Regions from separate parts of the Homo sapiens genome. Here region 2 is linked to region 1. The links are contacts of gene promoters, found by promoter capture Hi-C in human tissues and cell types (Jung and others, 2019). All regions are on one chromosome and are shown on one strand. Each heading gives the region's core, a stretch centred on a gene start or on the middle of the fragment in contact. The rest is flanking DNA. Distances are from core to core; before and after follow the strand shown. Region 1 holds the start of CYP39A1 (cytochrome P450 family 39 subfamily A member 1). Region 2 overlaps ENPP4 (ectonucleotide pyrophosphatase/phosphodiesterase 4).

Region 1 (5,146 bases), core at 1,930-4,429:
AAAAATCTATAATTCTATTTGCTTGTATACAGTTAAAGAAACTATGAAACAATATATAAGAAATGAATTACAGTTGCCAAGGTTGGGAGTGAGGAGTGAGAACTGGGTGGAAGGGAAAAAGAGGTTGAAGGGACTTTCCCCGTAGTTTTTATATTTACAATTTTTTGAACCGTATAAATGCATGATCTATTCAAAGATTAAATAAAAATAATGGGAAGATGTTTTTGTGGTCACCAAAGTTGTCTCTTCTCAGTCTTCTAGAGGAGCATGAGAAGCTGAGAGTGTTAGCTAATGATGGAGTTTTAGAAGTTTTTTCTTGAAGGTTCAATACGCCATAAGTAGTGTCTTATGCAGGTGCCATTTAGATGCAATTTCGCATCAAGTCTACTGAGTACCTGTTGCAGCCACTGCGAAAACTCAGAATGGACCCCCACCCAAGATCTGGTTTGGATGTTAAGACAATTACTACATTTACACACACACACACACACACACACACACATACACACATACACACCTTGAGAGGGTATGAAGAGGTTTATTTCATACACAATGAGACTTCTCTGGGGAAAGAAGGGCAGTCCTCTCAAGCTGATCTGAAAATGACTTGAGAAAACAGTGAAAAGAGACAGGTCTTAGGGTTTCATTGTGGTTAGGGGGTAGGCTGGTGTGAGCCTTCCTGCATGAAGGTTGAGGTTTGTGTGATTTGAATCTCCCCTGGCACCAAAGGTGGGAGCACTCTGGCTTTTTTTTTTATCATACTGCCCAGATTAAGGGTACAAGAAAAGACAAGAGTGAACCTTAAAAGCTTTTAGTAGTAAAACATCAAATAATGCAGTCATATTCTTTTTTTTTTTTTTTTTTTTTTTTTTTTTTTTTTTAAGAGACAAGGTCTCGCTCTGTTGCCCAGGCTCGAGTGCAGTGGCTCAATCATAGCTTACCGGAATCTGGAACTCCTGAGCTCAAGCAATCCTCCCGCCTCAGCCTCTCGAGGAGCTGGGACTACAGGCATGTGCCACTGGACCAGATTAAATTTTTTATTTTTCTATTTAGTTTTTGTAGAAATGAGGTCTTGCTATATCTCCCGGGCTGGTCTTAAATTCCTGGCCTCAAGCAATCCTCCCACCCCTGCCTCCCAAAGTGTTGGGATTACAGGTGTGAGACACAGAGTCCAGCAATAACTTGTTTTGTTTAGTCAGGAAAGCAATAGAGACCTCACAAATATTTAGCCTTCTGACACAAGCTTGTAAAAAAACAGTTCCTTAAAAATTATCAAGATCATATGCATAAGGAAGGCTGTGGGAGACAAAGGAGTATTTCTTTAGGAGATATAATGTTTCATCTATCAGACTAGCAAAAATTGCAAAGAATTATGGTATTCAGTATGGCCCAGGATTTGAGAAGTTAGGCAATTGCATACAGTCAATGGAAAATAAAAATTGCATATTCATACTTCTTTTTCCAAAAGTAACACATTCATATAAACAATTTAAGTGTGCATGTCCTTTGACTCAGCAATTCTACTCCTAGGAATTTATTCTGAGTAAACAATCAGATAATTGCAAAATGTACAACCACACAATCAATACATGCACACAAACACGCAAGAATGTTCACTGAAGCACTGGCTGAAAGAAAAAAGTTTGGCAGCAACCTATAAACCCAACTATTGAGATTTAAGTAAACTATTGTATCCTCCTATGACAAAATATAGCCATAAAAGGAAGATTCAAAGTATTTCATGGTACAGGAAAGTCATTCACATTATATGTTAAAATCAAAAGCACATAAAAGAGTATTATACTATTATTCCATTGTTGTTCATTAAATAGTTGTAAATACATAGGAAAATGACCAAAATAATATAAATACACTAAATTTTTACAGTACAGCTGGTGTGATATTCTGGGTTATTTTTATTTTCATCTTAGTTCTCTTTAATTTTCTATATGTTTTTTACTAAATTGGAATCTCAGAGATTTTGAAGGCAAATGATCAGTGGTAAAATAATGCTACTACGTATAAATTCATTCTACAAATTGGGCTAACCAGATGGAAAATGGGTCACCACAGAAAGTATTATAATTCATAAGAATAATTATAATATCATACAAATTTATTAGACAATCAAATACCATAAAATATTTGTGACTGGAAATTGAATAAAACTTAAAAGACATTAATAAAGGTCTGTTCCTTAAAGTGCTCAGACATTTAAAAGATACTTTCAAGACAAAAACATCTACTACAAGGAGGATTACTAGTCTCTTCAGGCCGTAGTGAAAATGGAGTACATCATCATCAAATAACAACGTCAGCTAAAAATACAGAGCCTGTTTATTGTGTACGGACCAACTGTGCAAGCAATTTGTACAATACTTTGGTGTTAACTCCAATTTGGATACGAATTACTCATTTTCACAAACTTAAATTGGATTACACTTTATCTTTCCCAATTACTGAAAACATTTACTTAACACATACACATTTGGAACTTAACTTCGATGAAGTAAAAATACGAAAAGTTAATCTCTACTTCCAAAAATGTCGATGCACGCTGCAATTGTATTTCATTTCTTTCGCAAAATTTTGCACAGGATATTGTTGTTAATTGTTAGTAGAGGAATTCAGAAATGACTAGATCCTTTAGTTGAGGCAAGCAGGTATGTTCCCCGTGTTCTAGCCCTGCACTTAAGAGTCAATGAAAGAAAGTTTAAAAAAGAAAGCATTGTCTCCTCTGGAGACCCCGTCTGCCACGACCACATACCTTGATTCTTGCTTTCTCTATAAATTCTAGAGGGGCTTTCCCAAACTCAAATCCAACTCCAATCCAAGGAATCCAGCCCTTGATGCACGGGGGTCTACGCAAATTCTTCCGCTGAAGGAGTAAGAACAGAGCAAGGCAACCCAGGATTATAATCACTGTTGGGGAAATTAGTTCCATGTTTTTGTCCAGCACCTTCCAGAAGCAGAAAAGTGTGAAACAGTCCTGCCGTCCCTTGCTTCTTTTCTGTGGGCTACGGAACCTGTCGGGACTCCCAACCTTTCTGCTGCAACTTTTGCAGCTCTCCTTCGTAACTGTAGCTTCCTTCCTCTGTCCCAGTTTTCAGGTGATTTTTCCATTGTCGCTCCCTCCCACCTCCACTTCTCTTTGAATCTCAGCCAGCGCGGAAAAAATGCAAGGAGGGGCAGGGCCGGGCTAGGACTGACGGGCGAGAACCAGCCGCGTTGCCATGGAGGCCGGGGGCGGAGCCGCAGAGGGACCCGCGGCCGGCCAATCAGAGACGTAGCGGAGCCCGGCGGACTACATTGCCCAGTAACCTCCTGGGCTCCGCTGTGTTTTTCTATTCTGGGGTGTAAGGGGCAGCTGGACCACTCCAGCTGGGACTGCTAGGAAGGTTGCGGGTCCACCCGGCCGAGCCGAACGAGGGAAATGGTCCTCACCCGGCCACTCGCCGGTTGAAAAGGGGCCGCCCTGGCAGGGAAGCGGCCGCCGCGGCGCGGTGCAGCGCAGCGGCGAGAAGGAGTGCGTTATCGTCTTGCGCTACTGCTGAATGTCCGTCCCGGAGGAGGAGGAGAGGCTTTTGCCGCTGACCCAGAGATGGCCCCGAGCGAGCAAATTCCTACTGTCCGGCTGCGCGGCTACCGTGGCCGAGCTAGGTACCCGGCTGCCCACGCCTGGGCCTCCCGGGCCAGTGGCACGCGCCGCGCTGGGGGAGGGTGCGCGGGCGGCTTCGCGCCCGGCAGTGCGCATCGGAGAGGTCGCCCCTTCCATGCCCGCCTGGCAGAGGTGGCGGTGGAGGCCAGGCCCGCGGTGGGAGGAGGAGGGATTGAGGTCTCCACGGCCTTTTCCTTCTAATCTCTTCTAATGCTTCCCTTAGGCATGTGCTGTGGTGCTTGAATGTTGTACTTTAAGAAGCTTCGCGAGCTGTCATTCCTCTGTAGGAATCATTTTCCTTTTCATGAGGATGACCTTTTTAAAAACGTAATCTGTTTTCCATCCTTACTGAGATCATCTCTGTGGTTTATAGTCTTACACAGCCACACTGTCATTATCTTGTGGGTCCAAGTTGTGGACCTACCTTGTGGGACTTCCGTTATTAACCTGCCACTCACAGAGCATCGACTACTTGACCTCTTTGAGTGTAATTCATCTATACTGTTTACCTTGCAGGATTCTGAGAAGTCAATAATATATGATTGCTAAACCCAAGGCAGGACACCCATTAGTTGCGACATTTTTATAATTCCTACAATACCAGGGACTGTGGATATATATTTGAAAAGACCCAGTTCTGACCTTCTTACAGGCTGCTGGGGAGACAGAGAAAGACAATTATAATGTGCTACTTGTTATAATGAAGATATTATTAGGTGTCATAAAAGCATAGAAGAGCAGTTACATCTGCCTACATGAGTAAGAAAAAACTTTAAGAGGCCATCTAGAGTGGAATGATGATGCCCTTGAATGAGCAAGTAGCGTTTATTCCAAGGATTTTGTGAGTAGTATACTCATGTGTTTCCTGTGAAGCCTTAACTGTGTATTTTAAGATTACCCTTACATTTTCTTGCCTGTTACAAAAAAATAAAAAGAACAGTTCTGATGCGTTATCATTTGTAAATGTTAGTTGGTCCTATTTTAAGAGTTTATTTTTTAATTCTAGCATAGCCAGCCATGATCAGTTGTTTCGTGCTCTTCCATTTTTGCCTTTTAGCCCCTCTATTTTTTAATGTCTCTCCTTTCGAAAATGATGGAGAATTTTTACTTTTCATTGTTTTTACTGAAATAAAATTCATCAGCTTAAAAAGATCTAAAAGCAGATTGCTGAATGATATTTCCAGGTTTTATTTTTAATTGATGTGTCCCCCTCTGACTCAATGGCTTTTATACAGGACTATTCCTCGTTAAAAATTCATGGAGAGAATTGTGTGTGGAGAATGGATGGGAATCAAAATGTGGGATGGTTTTAAGTACAAACCACTTCAGGAACCTGAAGCATCATTTAACAAACCAGCGAGAAAACAAAACTTATTTTGAAAGACATAATCTGTGTAATATGGAGAAATCTATTAAGATTTTTCAGGTTTCATATGTCAATAAAATATTGCTTGAAGTCTATGCAAGCTACTTCTGTTCTAGGGAAAC
Region 2 (5,146 bases), core at 1,292-3,791, 510 kb before region 1:
CTTAGTCTGAAATAATGCATTCACTTGTTGCATTCTAACTGCAATCCCAGATCTTTGTAACTTTCACTAAAAGTTACTCTTAACTAATCTTCATTAGTTCTTTGACTTCACCAGAACCTCTAGTTGAAAAACTTCTCTACTTCTTACTTACATCTGTCAGTTTCAGCTTAGATGCTGCAGCCCCAATTTCAGCTGCTCTTTAGTTAGCATCTTCAGCTTCCTTTGTCTTCCTTCAGTTTCTGGCAGAATCTCAAATCCAGGTAGGATCAGCTGCCTGTTTTGTTCATGCCTGTGCCAGGTTTACTGAGTTGCTAGAGAAAACCAGTCAACTGTGTCACTATGAAAATTCATGACAGCTGTCAACATTGACTCCAGTTCTACTGTTTACTCACACTTTCTCCCATCTTCCACATTAACTATTTCAGACATTCTTTCTGTTCCTCAAACCTCTGAACCTTTTACCATTCTACTCCCTGTCAATAATTGACCCTACCTCCGGCAACTCTCTTCACCTCCAGCCCTCAAATCTGTCAGCTCCCCTACCTTTGCTCCTTCTCTCCTGTTACAATGGAAGAGGCATCCTGTCCATCTGAAGTGAATCATTTTACCTCACTCACATGTCCTATTTTCTTAGAGACCAAAGAAGATAGAGAGCAAAGGCAGGGAGATTTATTAGGGAAAAGCTGTTTTTGTCATCAGTGAATTGATTTAAAGAAAGAACAAAAAATCAGAGATAGCTTTAAGCCTAGGGTATTAGTGAAAATAGTTGTTGATAGCTAAAAGGAAGTTTAAGAGGGATGTGGTAATAAAACTCATTTCAATAGCTATTGGATTTCTTCATAAGTTACTGGAGCATCCATGTCCATGTAGGCTTTGCATGTTTGTTAATCAACTTCATGTGACTATTGGGGCACATACAGACTGATGGGGGCTTTTTTCTCAATAGCATTTATTTCTTATTCCCCCTTTTTTATAGCAATATTTTCAACAAGAACTGGCAATAAACCAATATGGTAGAATTTCCACCAATTATTTCTGTGGGTTAAAGAAACTATAAAGTACAATTTATTAAACTGGAAAAATAATCATCATCTCTGGAGCCTCTGAAAGCTTGGCATTAACGTTATGTTTTACAAAAGAATCATTTTAGTGTCTGCATCTATTTTTATTAAGCCTTTCGAAGAATTTCTAATGTGGCAAATGAGCTGACAGCCTAGAAGGAGTATTGATGTGGAGTATAAAAATGGCCCATATGAAGGATAGAGTAGGGCATATATATAAATAGGAAATTGGACAAGACAATTTTTTTTCCAATTTTAGCTTTTAGTTATTTTTAAATAAATGGTATTATTTAAGTTAATATAGGTAAAGCTGGCATATAAATGTTGGTTCTCTCCTCCTGTGGGCTAAAATTCTAAAACTTAACCCAAATGAAATAGAATTACTACTTATGAGTTGTGTTTTTACATTTTAGGAACCCTGATTGCTGTCCTTCAACGTGTTCATTATGAAGTTATTAGTAATACTTTTGTTTTCTGGACTTATAACTGGTTTTAGAAGTGACTCTTCCTCTAGTTTGCCACCTAAGTTACTACTAGTATCCTTTGATGGCTTCAGAGCTGATTATCTGAAGAACTATGAATTTCCTCATCTCCAGAATTTTATCAAAGAAGGTGTTTTGGTAGAGCATGTTAAAAATGTTTTTATCACAAAAACATTTCCAAACCACTACAGTATTGTGACAGGCTTGTATGAAGAAAGCCATGGCATTGTGGCTAATTCCATGTATGATGCAGTCACAAAGAAACACTTTTCTGACTCTAATGACAAGGATCCTTTTTGGTGGAATGAGGCAGTACCTATTTGGGTGACCAATCAGCTTCAGGAAAACAGATCAAGTGCTGCTGCTATGTGGCCTGGTACTGATGTACCCATTCACGATACCATCTCTTCCTATTTTATGAATTACAACTCCTCAGTGTCATTTGAGGAAAGACTAAATAATATTACTATGTGGCTAAACAATTCGAACCCACCAGTCACCTTTGCAACACTATATTGGGAAGAACCAGATGCAAGTGGCCACAAATACGGACCTGAAGATAAAGAAAACATGAGCAGAGTGTTGAAAAAAATAGATGATCTTATCGGTGACTTAGTCCAAAGACTCAAGATGTTAGGGCTATGGGAAAATCTTAATGTGATCATTACAAGTGATCATGGGATGACCCAGTGTTCTCAGGACAGACTGATAAACCTGGATTCCTGCATCGATCATTCATACTACACTCTTATAGATTTGAGCCCAGTTGCTGCAATACTTCCCAAAATAAGTAAGTAAACATTCAACTGAGGGATACTATTATTCGAATGGGGCAATTGATTGAGGGGGGTGGGTTGTATAAAAGAATGAAGCTCTAGCTTTTTGTAGTTTAGAACCATATACTCAGAGTGGGATTATATGTTTTTTTCCTCTTGTTTACAAGTTGAGAGCAGTTGGCCTATGGTTTAGTTATATGGCTTATGGTTTAGTTTCAAAGTGAGTATTTCTTTGCTTTTGATATATCTAATTATTTGCACTAGAAAAAGGAAATTTTTATCCTTAAACATCTTAGATTTTAGTGTGTGATATTTAGTGGTGAGGTACTTTCTTCTACTGATCATAGAAGTAGTAGTTAGTAGTAACATGTAATTAGTTTATGTTTACTTAGGAAGATACACCTGAAAAATGTCCCCTATCTGTAAAAGTCCACCATGGTAATCCACAAAGTGAAACAGATTTGTTAATGTTTGAGAAAGGTGTGTGTTTGTGTGTATCAGTCCCCAACACTCTCACATTATTATTGCTCTGTTTTTTTAAGAAGTGATTTAATAGATGACATTATCTATAATTTACTTCCAATTATTCTAGTTAGACATATTTTTTCCTTATCAATCATAACTTGTTTCCTTTGCTGTTTCTTTTTTTTTCTCAGATAGAACAGAGGTTTATAACAAACTGAAAAACTGTAGCCCTCATATGAATGTTTATCTCAAAGAAGACATTCCTAACAGATTTTATTACCAACATAATGATCGAATTCAGCCCATTATTTTGGTTGCCGATGAAGGCTGGACAATTGTGCTAAATGAATCATCACAAAAATGTAAGTATTTAGTTGAGATATTTCTGTTGTATCCTAGGAACAAATCATACCTTGTGATACTGTTGTGTTAAGAGGGTACTTCGATTTAAAGAAGTTCACACAGAATAATTAGTTCAATTTTCAACCAGATAATTCCCAGGTCTTCATTTAATAGCAATTTACAGTAATCACAATTTCACCTTTAAATTAGAAAGTAAATTTAAGAGTGAAGGCAAAGTCCTACTTTCTTTCCAAAACTGCAATTACTGTCAGTAATTTTCAAGATTCATTCTCTTGATTTATACAAAATAGAGAAGTAAAGAAACAGTAAAAGGGGAGAGATTAGCTAATCCTTGTTCTTTTGTGTGTTAAAAAAAATTTGTCTGAGTAACCCTAAGTCTTCCCCAGTAACAAAATCATTTACCTGAATGCTACAGCTATTTAGAACACTGGGCAAGAACCAGAAAGTAACCAAACAAATCCACCAAGTGAACAAAATAGATACATCAAAATCTCTCCTAAAAAATATATAGGGGAGAAAATGTATAGGGGTGAGTTACAGGCTTGCCTCAAACTGAAGCTTATTTATCCATATTTCATATTCAATTCAAATGCTTTTTTTAAAATCTAATTTTGTGGTCTATGGTAGGGGTCAGCAAACTTTTTTAGTAAAGGGCCAAATAGAAAATAGTTTAGGCTTTGTGGGCCAGCTGGTCTCTGTCTCAGCTACTCTACTCTGCCTTTATTGTGTAAAAGTAGCCATAGACAACCTGTAAAGAAATTGAAGTGGTGTGCTTCGGTGAAACTCTGTTTACAAAAAGGATGGAGGGCTAACCTTCGCTATGGGCTGTAGTTTACAGTTCCCTGATATATAGCAATTTAGAAGTATCAGGCAAGCATAGGACAGACTCAGAATCAATGAAGTTTGTATATTATTTACATCAATGTTATGTTGCATATTTGTTGTTGACAACCGAAAGTATAGAAAAGCATAGGAAAGAGAACAAAAACTATCCATAATCCCTCAGTATGGATTTATAGGCAAATGTTAATTGTGGACATTTCTCCCCATCCAATCTTTTTTCATATATATATTCTTTTCTAATATATATCTATATTATATATATTATATGTAATATAATTATATGTAATATATATAATATATATAATGTATATTATATATTATATATAATATATAATTACATATAATTATAATATATATTTTCTACATATATATGTAGAATATATTATATATTATATATAGAAAAATATATATTTTTTTCTAATATATGTGTGTGTGTTTTAATATTATTGAAATCTTTATATATTCTGCTTTTTGTCATATTGGTTATTTTTATGATGAAATATTTCAAACATACCACCAAAGAATAATATAACAAATATCAGTATACTCATCACCCAGTCACCCGTACTTAATATGAAAGTGGGAGCTTATTAAATACAACGGGTGTACGTTAAATGGCAACATTTGTTAAAATAAAGCTAAAAATTGGGAATTTATTATTGGAGTTGTATTAGGGACTATCATATGCTTTTCTTTAAGTCTAACTTTTACTGGGATAGAGTCACCAGATTAGACAACACATTCAACGCAAGATCCCTCCTGTAACAATTGAGATAGGTTAGGCTGCAGATTTTCTTTTTCTCCATTTGTTGGCCTTACTCACTTCTGTTCTTCCCAGTTACACAGAACCCTCAGCCTGACCACTGTCTTTATAACTGGTACTGCTTGCAGTGAGCTTTTGCAAACAGTGCTGAGATTGACAAGTGAAGTAATTGGTACTCGGGCTGAAAGATAAGTACATCAGGTTGACAAGTGGTGGTAAAGTCTGAGGGTATGACCAGTTGGGAAAAGGGGCATATGTGTGTGTTTGTGTGTGTATGTGAGAGAGAGAGAGAGAGAGGGAAATATGGAACATAGCTGAGTTGAAGAAATAGAAATTTTTATTTCTAGTCCCTTTCTGAAAGAATTGAATGTTTATATACTAGAAGCAAGTTAT

The links. Contacts are between HindIII fragments. The study calls those that stand out against the background at their distance.
Region 2: a fragment that was not itself captured here is called in contact with the fragment with the promoter of CYP39A1 in region 1 in 1 of the 25 tissues and cell types used here (heart right ventricle).

The regions. Positions count from the first base shown.
Region 1 is chr6:46,649,639-46,654,784 of GRCh38, forward strand. It overlaps CYP39A1 (cytochrome P450 family 39 subfamily A member 1), which reads right to left and starts at 3,180. Exons shown (of 12, transcript NM_016593.5): 1 at 2,768-3,180. The coding sequence starts at 2,944. It overlaps SLC25A27 (solute carrier family 25 member 27), which reads left to right and starts at 3,337. Exons shown (of 9, transcript NM_004277.5): 1 at 3,337-3,660. The coding sequence starts at 3,555. RefSeq lists enhancers at 3,085-3,134, 3,365-3,494 and silencers at 3,155-3,244, 3,675-3,774. The HindIII fragment of the contact is 4,112 bases long and covers 1,026-5,137 here.
Region 2 is chr6:46,138,077-46,143,222 of GRCh38, forward strand. ENPP4 (ectonucleotide pyrophosphatase/phosphodiesterase 4) reads left to right here. Exons shown (of 4, transcript NM_014936.5): 2 at 1,475-2,333; 3 at 2,976-3,146. The coding sequence starts at 1,508. Among named protein-coding and RNA genes, the nearest start is that of ENPP4, 11 kb to the left of the region's middle. The HindIII fragment of the contact is 4,639 bases long and covers 223-4,861 here.